2 separate regions of the Homo sapiens genome follow, and region 2 is linked to region 1. The links are contacts of gene promoters, found by promoter capture Hi-C in human tissues and cell types (Jung and others, 2019). All regions are on one chromosome and are shown on one strand. The core of a region is centred on a gene start or on the middle of the fragment in contact, and the rest is flanking DNA. Distances in the headings are between cores, read along the strand shown.

What was found. Contacts are between HindIII fragments. The study calls those that stand out against the background at their distance.
Region 2: a fragment that was not itself captured here is called in contact with the fragment with the promoter of MVB12B in region 1 in 3 of the 25 tissues and cell types used here (IMR-90 fibroblasts, hippocampus and mesendoderm cells).

What each region holds. Positions count from the first base shown.
Region 1 is chr9:126,323,364-126,328,917 of GRCh38, forward strand. It overlaps MVB12B (multivesicular body subunit 12B), which reads left to right and starts at 3,466. Exons shown (of 10, transcript NM_033446.3): 1 at 3,466-3,647. The coding sequence starts at 3,567. RefSeq lists a silencer at 3,451-3,590 and an enhancer at 4,032-4,683. The HindIII fragment of the contact is 8,205 bases long and covers 1-5,554 here.
Region 2 is chr9:126,197,921-126,203,474 of GRCh38, forward strand. No RefSeq gene overlaps it. Among named protein-coding and RNA genes, the nearest start is that of MVB12B, 130 kb to the right of the region's middle. The HindIII fragment of the contact is 6,735 bases long and covers 1-5,554 here.

The DNA of each region.
Region 1 (5,554 bases), core at 2,216-4,715:
TCAAGATAAGTTTCTTGTTAGTTTTTTTTTGTTGTTGTTTGTTTGTTTGTTTCTGAGATAAGATCTTGCTCTGTTGCCTAGGCTGGAGTGCAGTGGCGTGATTATAGCCTACTGTAGCCTCAAATTCCTGGGTTCCAGCAATCCTCCCACCACAGCCTCCCAAGTAGCTGGGACCACAGGCACACACCACCATACCTGGCTCATTTAAAAAATCTTTTTAGAGACAGGGTCTCACTATGTTGCCCAGTCTAGTCGCAAACTCCTGGCCCCAAACAATCCTCCCACCTTGGCCTCCCAAAGTACTGGGATTACCAGCATGAGCCAACACACTCACGCCAATCAAGGTAAATTTTAAAATAATTTCATCATGTTCCATCTCACCTCACCCCTCAGATCATAGTGGTTTCTTGATCTGAATTTTACTAAATTTATAAAGTGAGTTGGGGAGACACAGCATCTTTGCACTGTTGAGACTTCCTGCCCAGGGATTTGTTATATTTTTCCGACTATTAAGATCTTCTTTTATGTCCCTCAGTCAGGTTTGTAGTTTTCTTTCCATGGACCTTCACATTTCTTGTTAAGCTTATGCCTAGTATATGCCTTATAGTATTCATTGCTAATGTGAATATGCTTTTTTTCCATCATACTTCCTAAATGGAAATAACTGGTATTTAGTGTTGTATTTGGAGGTCTCTGTAAGTAATACCTCCCTCCCTATTCTAAGTTTGGAACAAACTGGGGCATAGACACAGGAAAGAGACATAAGACAAAAATACTACCTTAATTTTTAATGAAGCTGACTGGAAAAAGTAGCTTTTGCTCTGTAGCTAAGTGGGCTTGCTATATTTCTCCCTGAATTGAGTAGATTTATTTGTGTAGTGGCGGGTGGTGCAGGAGAATAGTATCACTCTGTCCCTGAAACAGGTTCACTTAACCCACAGTGAGAGCGCATGGAAATATTTGCTCTCTGCAGTCAGCCAAATCCAAAAAGAGAACTCAGAAGCATCTATTCTTGTCCACTTTTTCCAAACTCACTCATCTTCCCTTAGAGTGGAGAGAGGCCAGAAGTCTTATTCTAATGGAAGTCCCTCTATATGGAAAAGAAGGCTTCTCCCTTCAATACCATAAGACAGGGTAAGGAAGAAAAAAAAGAATAATAATAATAATAATAATAATAATAATAAGAAGAAGAAGAAGAAGAAGAAGAAGGAAGGAGAAGGCTTCTCCCTTAACATTTAGGAAAACCATTGATTTTGGTGTTTATCTTATAACTGACCACCTTACCAAAGTCTCTATGATTTTTAGTTGATTTTTTTTATTTTTACTTTTTGGGAAACACTTAAATCATAAGCAAATAATGACAATTTTATCTCTTCCCTTCTAATATTTATATTTCTTATTTATTTTTCTTATCTTATTGCATTGGCTTTATTCTATAGCCATTATAGCAGGCATCCTTTTGACTGACTTACATGAGAATACCTTTAGTGTTTCACCATTAAATATGTTTGTTGATGGCTTCTGATAAACTTTGTCATGTTAAAAGTTTAAACTTTCTTCCTATAATAGTTTACTAAGAGTTTTTAGAAATTTATGGGTCATTAGTTTTGAAGTTTATAAAATACTTTTAAAGCATCTATCCCATTGATAATATCCTGTAATTTGTTTTCCTTTAACAATGCAATGCATTTACAAATTCCCTAATGTTGGATTTTTCTTGCGCCTCTGGAATAAATCTTGCTTGATCATGGTGGGTTTTCAGTTGCTTTAATAGTAAACTGGATTCAAATGGCTAAAATTGTATTTAATAGTTTTACGACTATTATATACTTAAATATATAGTGCAGATTCACATATTGAGGATTTATCAGTGAGCTTTAGAAGGTGGTCCTGGCTCAGATGAGTTTGGGAAATGCCAGGTTAAACAAACCAAACAGGTTTCTTTACTCCTGGACTTCACAGAGGCCTTCCTTAATATACGAATACTTATCGTGATTCTCCAAAAGGTACACTATAAACGGCATGCAGCACTTTCTCAAGTTGCCCACAGAAGCCCATTTTCAAAAAATAAATATTAAATTCTCTGGGGACTCGTGTTCTAGGTTAGTCATCTGCAGTTCTTTTTGGTATTGTCTGTTGGATTTTGGTATCAGGGTTATGCTAAACTTGGGAAATGAAATAAAAATTTTTGTTTCTTTTGTTTATTTTTTCCTGTGTAACAGTTTAAGTAACATAGGGATGATCTGTGCCCTGATGGGAGGATAAGGCTTGCTGTAAAGCCATCTGAACCCATGGCATTTCTGAGTAGTGAAGACACTGGGAATGCACACGTGCATGGCTTCCCTACAGGATGTTTCCCCCGACAGCCCATTCTGCTTGGCACCCTTCTCTTTAGGATCAAACAGCTATTATGGAAAAGCCTAGAATGTGTGAAAATGAGACTCAATGCATTAGCAAATCAATGCTGATCACTCCTGCATGGTCCTCAAGTCCTAACGAATGCTCCAGCCTCCTGGCAGGAAACCTTTCAAATCTTGCACACGCTGGCCTCTGCCTGGGGTGCCTGGCTGGGCGGTGTGGGGGGCATGGTTGGTTAAGGCGCAGAGTCCGCCTTTCCTACCAGCCACTCTAGCTGAGGGTCAAGCTCTGGACCCTCCCCCAACCATCCAGCTCCATTTTATCCTTGGCTTATGCCTTCCCCAAGTACTGCAGGGTAGGACTCCTGCTAAAAACTTCTTCTAGATGCTTGCCTGAGGCTGGCCCCATAAACCTGATTCTAGGCTTCTGGGGATAAATCATCTAACTAATATAAGAGAATTGCTAGGCAATTGGGGTTAGTTTGAGACGACTGGCTGAGCTCACCTTAGGTGAGCTGGGGGGTGGGGGAAGATGAGCTGAAGGATTCTAGGGTTCAGTGAAGCCTAGAATGGCTGGGTGGGCGGAGAGTCCTTAGAAGGGTCCAACTTCTAGCCTGAGGGCCTGGGGGCTTCCAGGGATCTGCAGCCGAGCGGAAGACCGGTCTTGCGTACAGCGAGGCCTACGAGAGCTAAGTGGGCTGAGGGTCCCTGGAAAAGACCAGCCTGGGGGCGGGGACCATCGATGCCCCAGGCTCTAGAGGCCGTGGGCTCCCGGGGGCCTGAGGCTGGACTGGGGTCGCCGGCGGGCTCGGGGAGGCCCGGGTGGGCGCACCGGGGCCCTGCCTGCGGCTGACGGGCTGGGTCGAGGGGGAGGCTGGGGAGGCGGGGTGCCGGCCGGGGCGGCGGCGCGGGCTCGGGACGCCAGGGCTCCCTCTCCCTCCTCCCGCCCGAGCCAGCCTCGGGCGCCGGGCGCCTCCCCCGATCCTGAACCAGCGCCAGCGCCGGGAGGCCCGGAGCCCGGCCCGCCGCCGCGGCCCGCGGAGGGAGCCGCCGCCGCCACTGCCGTTGTCGCCGCCGCCGCCAGGCCGCGCCCCGCCCCTCCGCCGCCGCCGCCGCCGCCGCCGCTCTCGGTGAGGCTCGCGCTCGAGCTGCGGCGCCGGCTCCTGCCGCCTGGGCCCCGGGCCCGGCCCCTCCCGCGCCGCCCGGGCGATGAGAAGCTGCTTCTGCGTGAGACGGAGCCGGGACCCGCCGCCGCCGCAGCCACCGCCGCCGCCGCCCCAGCGGGGAACAGTTAAGTGAGGCCCGGGCGCCGCGGAGGCTCGGCGGAGCCGGCCCTGCAGCCGGGAGGGCGGGCGGGCGGGCGCGGGCCCCCGGCCGAGGGGCGGGCGGACGGGAGGAGCCGGGCCGCGCCGAGGCCTGCGGGCTCCGTGCCCGGCCCGCGGCGGGGACAGGCCCGGGCGGCCTTTGCAGAGCCCCGAGCGCGCCGCGGCTGCCGGTGCCCGGGCTCGGCCTGGCGGCGAGAGGCGGGAGAAGCTGGGGGACCCGAGTGCCAGCAGCGCCCCCAAGGCCCGGGCAGGTGAGGGGCGCCGAGAGCCACCTCTGCCCGCGTGAGAGGGAGGCGGCCCACCTGGGCACAGACTGGGAACAGTCAATCGTTTGACCGGCCTGGCCTGGGGTCCTGCTCTCTCTGGTCACGTGGGTGCAGACCAACGTGCACCTGCCCCAGGAGCATCACTGCCTCTGTGACCTGGGCACAGCAGAGAGGACACCTAAACCCTCAGGCACCTGTCTGGAAGGTGACATGCCCAGCCTGGGTACCCGAGACCCAGAGCACCCATCCAGGAACATGGTGGGCACGTCGAGCACCCTACAGTGACTCCAACACCAGCGAGACGGGAGGAGCAGGGGCTGGGACAAGAGCTGAGGCATGGCACCAGGGGACATCACATCCTCAGAGGCAGGCACCAGGGAACGGGGTAGACCCAAGAGCATCTTTTGTCCTCTTTGTTACCAACACACAACTGTTCTAAATCAGCAGCCCTTCTCACCATGAAAGATGAGACTCTTCTGTTCCCTGCCCCTCAACACCTCTTGCACAAGGCACTGAGGAAGACCACAGGAGGGCAAAAGGCAAATGGTGGTTGCCCCTTCCCTGCTTCCTGCCCCCACCCAAGAACCAGAGCCCACTCCGATTGCTGCCACAAAAGCAGACAGCAGACCAGCTCCTCTTAGGGGCCTTTGTCTCTCGTGGTTCCTTCTCAGTATAATCTCATTGTACATTTCTCGACAGCTGGCTGGATCTCATCTCGTTTTAACAGGGCTGGGAAATCTTATCAGCGGCACCAGGAAAGCTTAGAGAGTTAAAAAATAAGCTCTGTGAAGCCTTGACTAACTGAAAAACTCAATGTGCTAGGATGTTTAGTTACAGTAGATGGTGACACCTTTCTTGCTTGTTAGAAATCATGTGGGGTCCTTGGAGATACTGTACCATGCTCAGAATCTTTAAATAGGGCCTCAGAGAGATGAGGCTTCTGCTTGGGACCCGGGCTCCAAGCCCCATGGGAAGCAGTTGACGTGGCGATTACTGGTTCATTTAAACCTAAACTTACCTTCTGTAATCCATATTTTTCATTCCTTCCTTCTAGGCTTTAGGTCACACTCCTAATTTAGGTTCAAGGCATTTTTCTTGCCCTGTCTCCATCCTGCTAGGGACCTTTTACCACTTCCAACTGGAATGTTGTGCCATGGTTATGTGCAGGGAGTTTAGAATTAGCCCTCAGCTTAAGTCTTGGCTTTCCTACTTACTTTGTGCCCTTGGACAAATTATTGAACTTTTCTGAGTTTCAGTTTCCTCATCTGTAGAGTGAAACTAATGATAGTATTCATCTCATGGGATTATGGCGTGATGTAAATGAAATTTTGCAAGAAAAGTCTAGCTCAGTGCCTGCTACATGGCAAGAAGTCAGTAAACGGTAGGGGTCATTATGAGAGGTTTGTTAACGGATGAATGAGAGGAGTAGCTTATTTATTTATTTTTAGAGTTTCTTTCTGTCTGCTTTTTTTTTGGTTTTTGTTTGTTTTTGAGACAGGGTCTCACTGTCACTCAGGCTGGAGTGCAGTGGTACCATCATGGCTCACTGCAGCCTTGAACTCCTGGACTCAAGCGATTCTCCCACCTCAGCCTCCCAAGTATAGGT
Region 2 (5,554 bases), core at 1,334-3,833, 130 kb before region 1:
GAATTGCCTTTTCTTCTTACTTTGTAGGATATTCTAAATCTAATTTATTGCTATATACTGAGACAAATATCTTCTCTGAATATGTGTGCCAGATATTTTTACTCTCTAGATAAACAGAAGGTCTCAAGCTTAATATAATTAAGATTATCAATTGTTTCACTTATACTTTGTGCTTTTTGGTCTTATTTAGGAAGATTTTCCTACTCTGTGTTTGTCAAGTAACTTGCCTAAATTTTTTTCCAACTGTTTTAATGTTTTGCTTTTCACATTTATATCTTTAATTCATCCATAAACAGCATATTATAATTGTTTATGGTATAAGATAAGGATATATATTTTTCATGTGGATAACCAGTTGTTCTAATCCATTCTTTCCTTGATGGTTTGCAATCCTGACTCTGTAATATACCATACTTTTTTAAATGCAGGAGATTGATTTCTGGGGTCTTCATTTTATATCATTTGTCTATTTTGTAGCTTATGCTACATTGCCTTATTAACTTTTACTTTTATACTCTTAATGGTTGGTTCAATCTTTCTTTAGGGGGTAGGTTTTTATAACTTTAAAATTTTTTTTCATTATTATTAGTCCATTTAGTTTTTTTTTAAACTTAAACGTTGAGTCAATTTGGTAATTTATATTGTCCCAGAGAAGTATCTTTTATTGAAATTTTAACATATAAGTACAGAGATTCCCATAACAATCCCTTATAATGTAATTTTTTAAAATCACTTCTTTAGCTATTGTTTTATCTAATTTCTCAATTGTATCTTGATATATTAATATTCTGTCTGATATTTTTTGATTTGTCAGAGGTTTGCCTGTTTTTGTTTTTACAAAGAGCTTTCTGTTGTGACATAGCTGGATTTTTGGTTTCTCTAGAGGACTCAGTTAACCTTTAGTTTTACTAACTGTGTTCAGAGAAAGAGACTTAGAAATTTTAGCTTTTTAAATGTGTGGGCTGCTGATAAGATTTGGCTCTGTGTCCCCACCCAAATCTCATCTTGAATTGTAATCCCCCCATGTCTAGGGAGGGACCTGGTGGGAGGTGATTGGATCATGAAGGCGGTTTCTCCCATGCTGTTCTCATGACAGTGAGTGAGTTTTCCTGAGAGCTGATGGTTTTAAGTGTGGCACTTCCTCATTCGTTCACACTCTCTCCTGCCGCCTTGTGAAGAAGGTACTTGCTTCTCCTTTGCCTTCTGCCATGTTTGTAAGTTTCCTGAGGCTTCCTAGCCATGTGGAACTGTGAGCCAATTAGACGTTTTTTCTTCATAAATTACCAGTCTCAGGTAGTGTCTTTACAGCAGTGTGAGAATGGACTAATACAGCTGCTATATAAACAATTTTTATAAATTTTCTAAGAATATTTAAAATACAGGTTTTTTATTATTAAGGTACAAATTAAGTGTTTCTGTTAATTTGGTCATATTTTTTAAATGACTAAAGATTAATTCTACATTTTACGGGTTGTCTACTTGGTATATGGAGGAATCAAATAGTGCTCCTAAAAGTCTCCCCCAGCAATTATTTCTGTTCATTCCTTATGTTCCCAATTTTGCTTTATATAGAGATATATGGTATTAGTAATTGCATAAAAGTTAATATCTGTTTGTATTCATTATGGATGATCACTTTGATCAATATAAGATGAAGTAATATTACTACTTTTGCTTTCGTTTCCCTTGCATTTGCTTGAAAAATTTTGCTCATCATTTTTTTATCTGTTATGTTTTTCTTGGTGTTTTCTTCTAAGTAGCAAATGATAGATTTTTTTCAATTTGAAGATTAAAATGTTAAGAGAGATCAAATCTTCCTAAATTAATATATACATTTAGTAAGATCACAATAAATAGGCCAACAGAATTTTTTAAATAGACAAGCCAATTATAAAGCTTATCTGGAAAACCAAATATACACAAGAATAGCCAGCAACATTCTGGAAAAAAAAAGAGCAATGAGGAAGAAATAGCTCTACCATATATTATGACAAATCACTGAAGTTCAGTAATTAAAATGTTGTGATTGTGATATAAGAGTAGAAAGACTGGCCAGTTGATCAAATGGAGCACAGAAATGTATCCAGTAAGAAATGAGAATGTAATGTATGATAAAGGTAGTATTTCTTTCTCTTTTTTTCTTTTTTTCCTTTCAATTTTATTTTAAGTTCTAGGTACATGTCCAGGATGTGCAGCTTTGTTATATGGGTAAATGTGTGCATGGTGGTTTGCTGCACAAATCAACTCATCACCCTGCATCCATTAACTAGCCTTCCTGATGCTCTCCCCGTGCCACACACACCTCCAACAGGCCCCAGTGTGTGATGTTCTTCACCATGTGTCCATGTGTTCTCATTATTCAGCTCCCACTTATAAGTGAGAACATTCAGTGTTTGGTTTTCTCTTCCTGCATTAGTTTGCTGAGGATAATGGCTTCCAGCTCCAGCTATGTCCCTGCAAATGACATGATCTCATTCCTTTTTAAGGCTTTTTAATGGAATACCATAGTATTCCAGGGTGTATATGTACCACATTCTCTTTATCCAGTCTAACATTGATGGGTATTTGGGTTGATTCCACATCTTTGCTATTGTGAATAGTGCTGCAATGAACATATGTGTGCATGTATCTTTATAATAGAATGATTTATATTCCTTTGGGTATATATCCAGTAATGGGATTGCTGAGTCAAATGGTATTTATACTTCTAGATCTTTGAGGAATAACTACGCTGTTTTTCACAATGTTTGAACTAATTTACACTCCCACCAGTAGTGTAAGAGCATTCCTTTTTCTCCACAACCTCGCCAGCATCTGTTGTTTCTTGACTTTTTAATAATCACCATTCTGACTGGTATGAGATGGTATCTCATGGTGGTTTTGATTTGCATTTCTATAATGATCAGTAATACTGAGCGTTTTTTCATGTTTGTTGGCTACATGAATGTCTTCTTTTGAGAAGTGTCTGTTCATGTCCTTTACCCACTTCTTAATGGGGTTGTTTGTTTTTTTCTTGTAGTATTTCTTATCAAAGGGAAAACATGGAGTATTTAATAAATGGTATTGGCATAACAGGAAACCATCTGGAAAAAAAGCCATCAGATCCCTACCTCACGCCTTACATCAAAGCCATTCCACACAGCTGAAACATTTAAATATAAAGTTTAAAAACATAAAAAGTACTATAACAATAGAGATTTAAAAATAACAATCTTGTCATAAGAGAGGGCTTTTGAAATAAGACACAAGACCCAGAAGCCATAAAAGAGATGAATTCAAATGAGAAAAAAAGTTTAATGTGCAAGAATAAAATAGAGTGACAAGACAAATAACACACTAGGGAAGGTGTTTGCAACAAACAGATTGATAAATGACTGATTTCTTTAATACAAAGAATGCCTACAATAGGTTTAAAAATAAATAAAAAACAATGACCCACTAGAAGAGCTAAGGGCTTGAAGAGACAGCTTTCTAAGAACACAAACTCAAATGGCTCTTAAGCAAATGAAAAGATGCTCAGCCTAGCTCAAAATAGCAGAAATGAAAACCTATGGCAAAATACCCCTTCTCATTGATTATTCCATCAAACATCAAAACCTTGTTAACACACAGTGTTGACACAGGTGTGAAAAATATATCAATGCATAAAACATTTGTTGGAGAAAATTGGGCAAAATCTTTCAACATTAAAAGTGCACAAGCCCTTTGATCTAGCAATTTCACTGTTAGGGATTTATTCTACAGACATATTAGCCAAATCTCATCTGAATTTTACCCAACAGTGGTGGATTGAGCACTTGCCATGTGCCAGGCATGGTAGCAGACAAGAAGGATACCCAGAGAAATGAAGCAAAGTTACTGTACAATCTTACAATGTGAGCTGCAATGGAATTTAGAGATTTCATTCCAGAGATGAAAACAGTGAGGTTCAGAGAGGGGAGTGTCTTTTCCAAGAAGTGACTGAGCAGGAACTGGAACTAAGGCCAAACATTTCCACACGAGTTGCCCTCAACCCTGAGAAAATAGAAAATATTCCCTGAAAGATCTGGGGACGCAGTCTAAAGTGGCTTATTACAAGCAAAGAAATATTTATTATTTGTTTCTAAAAGGTCATGCAAATTTTGCATTTTATTTCATCTATCTCTTTATTTAAATACACACATATAAATTGTTTAATATGAAGTAATGTTTTAAAAATTATTTTATTACTTACCAATTAATGGTAAATACTACAACACTTTCCATCCCCCCCCCCCCCATCTTTAGGTACAGTAGCTATATGAGGAAAAAGCTCCTCCTTCTTCTCAAACCCCAAAATATCCCCAAAGGGAGAAACATCCAGCTAAGCCAAGCTGCTTCTTGAATCTATGGCTTAGAAGATACTGCTCTGGGCTGGGCACAGTGGCTCACACTTGTAATCTCAGCATTTTGGGAGGCCAAGGCTGGCAGATCACGTGAGGTCAGGAGTTCAAGACCAGCCTGGCCAACATAGTGAAACCTCATCTCTTCCAAAAATACAAAAATTAGCCAAGCATGGTAGCAGGCACCTGTAATCCCAGCTACTCAGGAGGCTGAGACAGGAGAATTGCTTGAACCTGGGAGTCAGAAGTTACAGTGAGCTGAGATTGTGCCATTGCACTCCAGTCTGGGTGACAAGAAGGAAACTCCATCTCAAAAAAAAAAAAAAAAAAAAAAAAAAAAAAGAAAAGACACTGTTCTGAAGCTGCTGTTTTGAACTTCTTAATCATTTGACCTTTGCATCTGTGTTTTGTAAGTGAAGTCTGATAGGATAATGGAGCTAGGAGTCTGACACCTGGGCTCACACACAGTCTCGCCTTCTGGCTTCTCAGGGACAGGTTCTTGGCTGCCTACTCCCCAACCTTGCTTGGCACACCAGCAAGAGTCGGGGACAGGTGCACACCTGGGGTGGGTCAAGGTAGTGTCTGTCCCCACTCTGGCTGACAGTACCACAGCACATTCAGCAGGTGAATCAGCAGGGGTCTTTCACCCACCCCTGAGGCAAATACTCAGTCCATCTGGCAAAGAAGCTGCAATCCCTTGGGGGTTGCCTGACTGCTGTGGGTTGTGGCTGTGGGCCGTGGGAGGGAGAGATTGACTTTCCTGTCCTGGCTGGGTCCAGCACCAGACATTGCCACATATTTATCAACTCCCACAGATCCCTGCCGTGGCAGCTCACAGAAGTTCACTGAGGTGGAGCAGGAATGGGAATAGGTGGTGGCAGGGCGAGGCTGGAAGGGAGAGGGCAACTGGACTGGGGGAGCTTGGAATAGAGTGATGCAGGGAAGGCAAGGCACTGAATGTTGGTGTTTGGTCACTGTCTGCTGGACTGAGACCTTCTGGGTAAAGCCCTCAGGCCAGGGTGGAAATGTAGAGGGCATGATAGGGAGATTGCAAAAATGCCCCCAGTTCCTCCCAGCTCCCTGCTATGTGGCTCTGCAGCTCCCCTCACCAGGAGGTGCTACATTCCCCTGCCTTTTGCATTCAGGCTGCCTGTGACTTGTTTTGGCCAATAGAACGCAGCAAGAACCGTGGT